Regions from separate parts of the Homo sapiens genome. Here region 2 is linked to region 1. Evidence: promoter capture Hi-C in human tissues and cell types (Jung and others, 2019). All regions are on one chromosome and are shown on one strand. The core of a region is centred on a gene start or on the middle of the fragment in contact, and the rest is flanking DNA. Distances in the headings are between cores, read along the strand shown.

Region 1 (4,770 bases), core at 1,312-3,811:
AGAAGATGGAAGGCCTGGAAAGGCCACTGCTGGTCAGGTGGGCAGCAGCGTGGTGGCCTTGAGACAGTGCCAAGAAGAAATGAAAGGTGTCCTTGACAGAATGGATGTAGATGAATAAGAGAGGCAGCCAAGGCCTCAGAGGAACCTTTGACCCCGCTTTCCTTCATGCTCCCTCCAAAATGCATCCAGAATCCAATTCCTGTCCCCTCCTCTGCTCCCATCCTGGCTCCCTGGGATTACTACCACAGCCTCCTAAGAGGTATCCCTGCTCTCACCCTCCCCTCTTCCTCCACACAGCAGCCAGAGGGATCCTGAGAAAACTAAAATCATGTCACTTCTCTGCTCAAAACCTGCCAATGTGTTCAGGAGTAGCAATGGCCTCTAACCTTGCAGGACCTGGCCCCTGCTTCCTCTCGGCAGCTGTGCCTCCTGCCATCCTGGCTACCCTGAGGCAGCTCCCACCCCAGGCCCTTTGCACTGGCTGTTCCATAGGCCTGCAAGGTTCCCCCCTACATTTCCATGGATCTCACTCCCTTGCTTTCTTCAAGTCTTTTCTCACCGTGCCCCACAATTGAAAATGCAAAACCGCTGGGCACGGTGGCTCACGTCTGTAATCCCAGCACTTTGGGAGGCCGAGGCGGGGGGGGGGGGGGATCACTTGAGGTCAGTAGTCTTGAGACCAGCCTGGTCAACATGGTGAAACCCCGCCTCTACTAAAAATAAAAAAATTAGCCGGGCGCGGTGGCGCACACATGTAATCCCAGCTAACTGGTAGGCTGAGGCAGGATAATTGCTTGAACCCAGGAGGCAGAGGTTGCAGGGAGCCGAGATTGCCCCACTGCACTCTAGCCTGGGAGACAGAGCGAGAGTTTAAGACCAGCCTGGACAACATGGCGAAATCCATCTATACAAAAAAAAAAACAAAAAAAAAAAACCCAGAAAAATTAGCTAGGCGTAATGGTGCTTGCCTGTAACCCCAGGTACTTGGGAGGCTGAGGTGGGAGGATGGCTTGAGCTCAGGAGGTTGAGGCTGCAATGAGCTGTGATGGCGCCACTGCACTCCAGCCTGGGAGACAGTGAGATTCGACTCCGTCTCAAAAAAAAAAAAAAAAAAAAAAAAAAAAAAGCAGGCGGTTAGATTGCACAGGCCCTGAACCCCATCCTAAAGCCTCCAGCACTTTCAAGTGAGGGATTACCAGGTTTGCGGATCTGCTGCAACTTGGCTGCAGTGTCCAAAATGGGTGGGGCAGGTGGAATTAAAGATGAGGCTGTGGAGACAAGCTACTGGCAGAGAGGACACACTTTAAACCCTGGGAAGATATCATTACCCAGAGAGGGGGAAGGATGAGGACACTGCAGAGCCCAACATCATCGCCAGACCCGAGTCATGCGGCTCCTTTGTTCCAGGAACCAAGGCTGACCCTAGAAGCAATAGCAGCATTTTCACTCCGCAGGTGCATCTCTTCCACGCTTTGGGGTGCCTGCCCTGCCTCCGACTTCTGGGGCTGGGATTTAAGGCCCTACCAGGGCACAGCTCGCCAGCTCACAGGCGGTCAACTACTGATTCAGTTCTTCGTCTCCTTCACTCCTTTACATCGGACTCACGAGGGCTGAGGGGCAGCTCCCTTTCGTTAAGTGCTTCCCGCGTGCTCAACACCGCACGAATTCCCCTCGGCCCTACAGGACCAAACGACCGGCGCGCTGAGAAAGGGTGTGCGGTTCCACTGAGGACGCCCAAGCGGGACAGCCGGGCCCGCCGCGGTGAGATCCCCGGCCTGTCCAGCCCAAGCCCAAGCGCCCTCGCGGTCACGTGGCATTTCCGGAACATTCAGAACCTAACAGCCAGGAGGCAGGAGGGCCGGGCCGAGGCCGGAGCGCTGGACAACGCGGGTAGCTGGCGCTCGAGGGACAGGCAGCTCCCACCGGCTAGGACCCCCATCCCGATGCGCGGGCGAAGGGCTGGGGCCCTGTGCCGCTGGCGATCCCGGGGACCGCCTGGAACTCGCGGCACTCGGGAGCGAGAGGGAAAGCAACCCAGAGGCCCCGCAGCCGCCGGCGACACAGCTACAGACCCCGACTGCAGCCGGTACTCCCATATATCAGGGGCGGGGCGAAACCCGGCCTTTTGAAGGGCAGCGATTTAAACCAATCAGCGCAAAGAGTTGGCAACCCTCCGCCCAATTGGAATCGCTCTCATTCTGAAGGCGGTTCCGACATGGAGTCCGGCAGCCCAATGGGAGAGGTGGAAATTTCCAGAACGATCAGAACCAATGGGCGCGGCCAGCGCGGCTACGATTGGCAGTGCAAAAGACCAATCCGTGTCGCAGAAGTTCGCTCCTCCCTCCATTCGTGGAGCCTGAGATGGGTGGGTTTATAGAGGAGCGCCCAATCCTGAGGTGCGGGGGAGGCAGGGTTGAGGGAATTACTCCCCGCTGTCCAATGAGAAGGAAGTGGAGATGATGGGCTGGACCTCAAGCCAATAGTAGAGCAGCACAGACATTCCCCCTAGAAGAACTCGACCAGTGAGCAGGCGAGGAAGGGGCGGGAGCCGGGGTCCCGGTAGCTTCTAGTAGGTTCCAGAAGGCGGCGCGTGCGGTTGGGAACGCGGAGCGGACGGATTCGATTCAACGGGGTTCCGGACCGCGCTGCGCTATGGAGCAGGTGAAGGGGGAGGGGCGGGCTGAGGCCCCGAGCCTGCTCGGGGACCGGCGGTGGCCAGGCCGCGGTAGGGGGGCGGGGCGGGCGCCGGATCCAGGAGACCGGAGCTCGGCGCTGGGGCCGGACGGGGCGGCGGCGGGGAGGTGAGGGCCGCGGGCGGCGGGCGGGAGCGGGATCTTTAGCGAGGCCGGCCGCGGGGAGCGCCCATCGCCCCCTGGTTGGGCGAGGAGGGCCCGGCGGAGGCCACAGCTTGGGTGAGTCCGGCCGGCGGCGGGAAGAGGGGTCGCGACCGGGCCCTGAAGGCGTCCCGAGGGGGCGGCTGCGGGCCATGTTGGGGAGGGTGCGGGCCGCAGGGGGCGGGGTGGAGGTGGGCCGGGGGCCGGGGTCCGCACCCGCGAGGTAGCCCTCCGGGAGATCTCAGACGGCCGACGGAGAAACCGCTCGGGACTTAGCCACGAGGAACTTGGACGGATCCAGGGAGCGGGGACGGGGATACACTGGGAGTAGCCGAGGATCTTAGCAGCCTGGGATGCAGTTGGGGCAAATGTTACTCTTCTACATCTGAGAAGGTCAGGGTGGGAGAGCGTTGAGCGGGGGTCTGAGGAGCGACAGACCGACTCTACCTGATGCGGGAAAGGGAAGGGTGCCGCAAAAGTCCTTGGGACGAATTCCATCTCTGACAGTGTTTTACAAATGTATTGCGGCCCCTCCCCCTCTTTTTGTATGCTTGTGTGTGTGATTGTCGAGTGACCGAGGACCAACACTTCCGAAAGGTGGGTCTGAAAGATGGGTTTCTGACGACCCGGGGGTGGTTGTAGACAATTTACAGAGATCAACCGCTGGAAGTTATGGGCCTCTACTGAGCATTTGAGGGGCCGAGTTTGAAGCGGTTGCTGCTTCCTTTCAGTGACTTGGTTATGTCCTCAGTAGCTTGCGGTTATGAAAGGCCTAGAGGTTTTGTTCGATTTGAAGCTGTCATTGAGCTGTAATGATTCATCGGAAGAAAAAGGACAAAACAACCTCCAAGAAACCTCTACCAACCTCCGAGAAATCATCCTCCCGCTCGGGAGTACTACTGTCTTCGCTCCGGGCCCATAACACTTGGGGGTGACAATTCTGAAACTATACCTGGTATCTGGTTCTTACTTCAGGGCCATAAAACTAAGATCGCCCACACTCTCCCCTTAAATAAGACATCTCGATGGACTAGTGACTACCATCCTTTTTTTGGTGTGAGCTACAGAGCTGAGCCTTTGGTCTCTTGTAGCAGTTGCTGCTTTAGGCAAAGCTCGAGCTTCCTTGCTGTATTAAAAAGAGTGGAAATGAAGTTAGTAAACTTTTTTGTGCCCATATAATATTTCAGTTGTATCTAGGGTTAAATGGGCTGTAGTATAGGTGAGGAAAAGATTTCTGGAATAAGACGTTGCTCTTTTACCTTTAAGAAAGGATCTGGGGCCGGGCACCGTGGCTCAGCCTGTAATCCCAGCACTTTGGGAGGCCGAGGCAGGCGGATCACGAGGTCAGGAGATCGAGACCATCCTGGCTAGCACAGTGAAACCCCGTCTCTACTAAAAATACAGAAGAAAAATTAGCCGGGCGTGGTGGCGGGAGCCTGTAGTCCCAGCTACTCGGGAGGCTGAGGCAGGAGAATGACGTGAACCCTGGGGGCAGCTTGCAGTGAGCCGAGATTGCGCCACTGCACTCCAGCCTGGGCCATAGAGCGAGACTCCGTCTCCCTCCAGCCTGGGCCACAGAGCGAGACTCCGTCTCAAAAAAAAAAAAAAAAAAAAGGATCTCGGCTGGGCGCAGTGGCTCACGCTTATAATCCTAGCACTTTGGGAGGCCAAGGTGGGCGAATCACCTGAGGTCAGGAGTTCTACACCAGCCTGGCCAACATGGTGAAACCCCCTCTCTACTAAAAGTACAAAAATTAGCGGGTCATGGCGCAGGCCTGTAATCCCAGCTATTGGAGAGGCTGAGATAGGAGAATTGCTTCAACCCGGGAGGCGTAGGTTGCAGTGAGCTGTGATCACGCCACTGCACTCTAGCCTGGGTGACAGAGTGAGACTCCATCTCAAAAAAAAAAAAAAAAGAAAAGAAACGATTTCTGTT
Region 2 (4,639 bases), core at 48-2,547, 570 kb after region 1:
AGAACTCTAAAGACAGGTAGTAGATCCTCTGCCCAGAGAGACGGATGGGCAGGGAATGGGGTCAGGGCCACACACCAACACTCAGCCAGGCCCAGCCACGCCTGGACCTCTGGCCCGCCTGCCCTGCTCAGCAGTCCCATCCCTGTCCCCAATTTGTTTCTCCCTGTCTCAGGCTTTGGGGCCCAGCGGTTAAGGTTCTGGTCCCAGCATTCCTCTGACTTTGGACAAATCACTCTCTTTGGCCTCAGTCTCCTCATCTGGGAAATAGCGCTGGCCATACCCACTTCAGGGACTGAGGTACTCGGGAGAATGGGCACCCCTTCCCCCTGCACACACCCCCAGAGAAAAAAGTCATTTGCTCAAGGTCACACAGTGGCTAGAGACTGGGCTAGAGACTGTCACCTCCCATCCTTGCACTGTCCAGTTCCCCTTGGCCCTCAAGCCTCAATCCCAAGGAGACCCAGAGGCACCAGAAACTAGGATGCTGCCAGTGCCTGGTCTCCCAGTTTCCTGGGTCCCCTCCTGGGCCGTCTGCCCGCCCCTCCCCCACTCCCCACCGAGGCGTGTCAGGTTGCTGACATTTACCAGTGACCCCACCGGACACTTGATCTCTGCCGCCCCAGCTGCCCCAGCCCCGCCTGCTGCACAGGCACACCGCGCATACATGCAGCAACTGATGTGTCCTTCCACCTGGGCCCAGCCAGGCCACAGGCGCCGTCCTGCCCACCAGCACCCACTCCAACCTTCTCCGAGTGGGCACTGACCCTTTGCAGCCAGCCCACCTGCTCTGAGCTCCCTGACCCCCACTCCTGCCCCAGGTTTCTCCCTCAGATTGTCCCAGCACCCCTTGTGCCTGGCACCCCTGGATTCTCCACCCCCAAGAACCTAGAGTGACGAGGGGCAGCCACTTAAGTCAAGATCGCCAGCTCCCTGGCAGCGCCTTCAGCCCATACCCCCACCCCAGGCTCCCCAGCAGCACCTTGGGGTCCTTCTCATAGTAGTGCTGCTGCGTGCGGATCCAGCGCCCCACGAGGTGGTCGCGCACGGTATGGGCCAGAGCAAAGTAGTAGTCTCGTGGGGTGGCCACATTGCGGTCCTTTACGAGTGTGAAATGCAGGTGCCGGTTGAAGTTCTTTTTCAGCTCAGTCACGTTCTCCACGCCGGCCAGGCCACGCACACTGATTTGCTTTCTTTTCTCTTGGTCTGACAGGGGCCGGGACATGGCTGCAGGAGGGCGGGCCGGACTGGACTGATGGTAGAGGGGACGGCGGCCTCAGCACTGCCTCCAGCCAAGGAGTGGAGCTCCCCAGCCTCAAGGGGATTTAAAGCCTGGCTCTGGGCAGCACGCCCCGCCTCCCCTGCAATGGGAGGGTCTTGGCCTGGCAGCTCAGGGAGCTATTTTGAGGGCAAGGGGAGGAGAGGAGAGGGGAGGGAGAGGTGAGCTCCACTTGGGCCGCCAAGACTGGCCTGGCTTGTTCACAGGCCTGTGCTGACCCACTTCCTCCAGGCCTTGCACATGGTCTTCTGTCCCTTGTCCCTGCCTTTTGGAGGGTTGGATACAAGAAGGAGCAGGCAGAGTGCTGGATTGGGGAGCTGTCTGTCAGTGGCTGAACCAGGATGGGAGGCCATGTGTTGTGGCAAAAGGAACCAGGACCCCCTGCAGGCTGTGGTGCAGGAGCCAAGTCAGTGTCCCCTGACGGAAGAGGTGCAACTAGCAGAGGCCACTGGATGTCTTTGAGAAAGGGGCCCACGACCCTGCATTGCAGGGGTGGTGTGAGGGAGGTTGTGTGAGGCAGGGCCACAGCCCTCACTCCACCCCCACCGAAGCTGAGCAGCTCTAGGCTCCCCCTGTTGCTGTCCCTCAAGGAGCCCTGAAGTGACCTTTTGGAGAGGGATGCTCAGGTTACTGGCCAGCATTGGCGGGAGGCCGCTAGCCTGCAGCACGGGGCCCTGGGAACTGTAGTCCTATAGGCCCTCGGCGGTGGGAGAAACTGAGGCATTCCCCACTCCATCATCATACTGGTTTAATGACAGTAAGTTCTCCCTGTGATTCCACTGCTTAGGAAGTGATTAGAGGCCTTCTTTCACTTCTTCCTGCCACCTGGGGCCACACTCTGAGCAGGATTTTGTAAACCAGCTCTGTGACCTGGCCTATAAAATGGGTGCCTAATCTGTACCTCGAGGACCTCACCCCATTTGTGTGCATAGCCCCACAGCTTTGAGCCCTTCCCTGGAGGCTTTGGCTATCCTCCCATTCACTGCTGTGTTCTGGCCCCAGCACTGACTTGCTGTGTGACCTCAAGCTGGTTGCTTTACCTTTCTGAGCTTTGGATTCCTTCACCAAATTTAGACTCTCCAATGAGAAAAAAAAAAATCCCTGCCTCTCAGCTGCTGCCTCCTCATCTTGTGAGGGCAGGCTTCGGATCCTGCTGTTCTTTAAGAGAAAGGAACCAGGACCTTGTGCTAGTTCAAAGGCTGTTTGGGCCTCCCGGGTGGTGGGCCGGTGGAGGGGAAGAGCTGGGTGTTCTGTTCTGAAGGCCAAGGAAGCAGGTCAAAAGCCTGGACAGCTGCAGGATACTATTGAGAGCCTGGTTCGGAGAAAGCCAAGCTGTTTCTGAGAACTTTTTTTTTTTTTTTTTTGAGGTAGAGTTTCATTCTTGTCGCCCAGGCTAGAGTGCAATGGCATGATCTCAGCTCACTGCAACCTCCGCCTCCTGGGCTCAAGCAATTCTGCCTCAGCCTCCTGAGTAGCTGGGATTACAGGCACCCACCACCATGCCCAGCTAAGTTTTGTATTTTTAGTAGAGACGGGGTTTCACCATGTTGGACCAGGCTGGTCTGGAACTCCTGACCTGAGGTGATCCGCCCACCTTGGCCTCCCAAAATGCTGGGATTACAGGCATGAGCCACAGCGCCCGGCCTCCGATCACTTTCTGAGCCATGGCAGACCCAGCCCTGGAATCACCGGCTTAGTATGTGGGCCAAACTTCAAGTCCTACAGAGGTCTCCAGGCTCCCAAGCCCTGCTCTACCCCTGCCCCCAAAAGGCACGGGCACACTGTCTTCTGTGGTGCCTGCCACATTTCCAAGTAGAGAAAAAAGATCGGGAAAAAAACACCAAAATACACCTCCACAGACACGGGGATGCAAACAACTTTTCCTTACATTTTTCTGTTAATTTCCAATTTCTCTTAAGAAGTGTTTCATAAACCATTAAAAAACAATGCTGGCCGGGCGCGGTGGCTCACGCCTGTAATCCTAGCACTTTGAGGCCGAGGTGGGTGGATCACCTGAGGTCAGGAGTTCGAGACCAGCCTGATCAACATGGCGAAACCCCGTCTCTACTAAAAATACAAATATTAGCCAAGCATGGTGGCACATGCCTGTAATCCTAGCTACTCGGGAGGCTGAGGCAGGAGAATCACTTGAGCCCGGGAGGCAGAGGTTGCAGTGAGCCGAGATCACGCCACTGCACACCAGCCTGGGCGACACAGCGAGACTCTGTCTCAAAAACAAACAAAAAAACAATGCTGGCAGCTGTCTGGTCTCTTCCCCTTTCACAGTTTGCACCCCAGCCTCAGCTCCTGGGCCTCATCCCCATCCTCCACTAAGCACAGCTTGGACTCCAGCTTGGCCTGGCATCCAAGGTTCTTCACAGCCCGCACTTGTCCCTTGGAGGGTTGCTGTGAGTAGAGCTGAGACTTCTTGGCAGTCCACTGCCAGGCAGGCAGTAGCTTGTTAACCATGCCGTCACCTCACAGCCCAATCGTGGCAGCCTGCTTTGGCCACACACACCTTCTTTGCATTGACCCCTATTTCCTGCAAGACTTTATGTTCCTGCCACTGAGGACCCGATCCCCATAGACCATCCACATCTTACAGGCAGGGAAGGCCAAGTTCATTCCATCCTTTCCCAGCTACTCTCCCCTCTTGCACCCAGGGCGCTTGCTCTCAGGAACATTTTTACTGGGAAATTTTTAACTTTCTCCAACTACCTTTTCTGTGGCTTCTTTCCGTCTTTGTCATGCCATCACTCCCCACTGTTTCCAGGCTTTGTCCCGGGGTGACACTGCATGCCCCAGCCCAGCATGATCACACCTGGGCAGCACGATCTCATCTGTTTCCCTGCTTCCTCCGCCCCTCCTTGGTGTTGTGTATGCAGGTTTAATGAACCCTGAAGCACTTTTACAACCTGAACTCACTCGAGGTTATTTATGTCTAAGTTTCTAACTAGAAACCCGGCCTCCTTCCTTGGACCAATCCTGGGTTTCTCCAGAGCCCTTGGCTGAACCTCAGTAACAGAGCCCTGAGGCTGACCTTTCCCCACTGGCATTCCTCTTGCCAGGCCTTGCCAGGCCTTGAGGGACGGGGACAGTGCTGCTACAGCAGCAGAAATGAACGTGAGGAGAGGGGGTGGGGCAAGCACAGCCCTGTCACAATGTGATGGAGTAAATGGCTTGCTTTCCCACCCCAGGTGTCTTAAGACAGGTGGGCAGGCCTTTCTCTCTCTGATTCTGCCAGAGGCAAGTGCTTGCCACGGTTCAGAGGGCCAAGCCTTCCTGCTGTCTCTTCCATTTCAGGGCCTCTAGCACCTTGGAGACTGATGCCTTAGTCAGCCACTTCCTCTCCAAAACCTTAAC

Evidence for each region. Contacts are between HindIII fragments. The study calls those that stand out against the background at their distance.
Region 2: the fragment with the promoter of PYGM here is called in contact with the fragment with the promoter of STIP1 in region 1 in 1 of the 25 tissues and cell types used here (mesendoderm cells).

Annotation. Positions count from the first base shown.
Region 1 is chr11:64,183,610-64,188,379 of GRCh38, forward strand. It overlaps STIP1 (stress induced phosphoprotein 1), which reads left to right and starts at 2,562. Exons shown (of 14, transcript NM_006819.3): 1 at 2,562-2,661. The coding sequence starts at 2,653. LOC124902686 (a long non-coding RNA gene) reads right to left here and starts at 2,072. Exons shown (of 2, transcript XR_007062712.1): 1 at 1-2,072. RefSeq lists enhancers at 556-1,061, 1,685-1,754 and silencers at 1,875-2,014, 2,715-2,774. The HindIII fragment of the contact is 11,787 bases long and covers 1-4,770 here.
Region 2 is chr11:64,758,677-64,763,315 of GRCh38, forward strand. It overlaps PYGM (glycogen phosphorylase, muscle associated), which reads right to left and starts at 1,298. Exons shown (of 20, transcript NM_005609.4): 1 at 980-1,298; 2 at 1-28. The coding sequence starts at 1,222. RefSeq lists enhancers at 1-3, 4-707, 708-1,412, 1,413-2,115, 3,452-3,501 and 3 more. The HindIII fragment of the contact is 11,504 bases long and covers 1-4,639 here.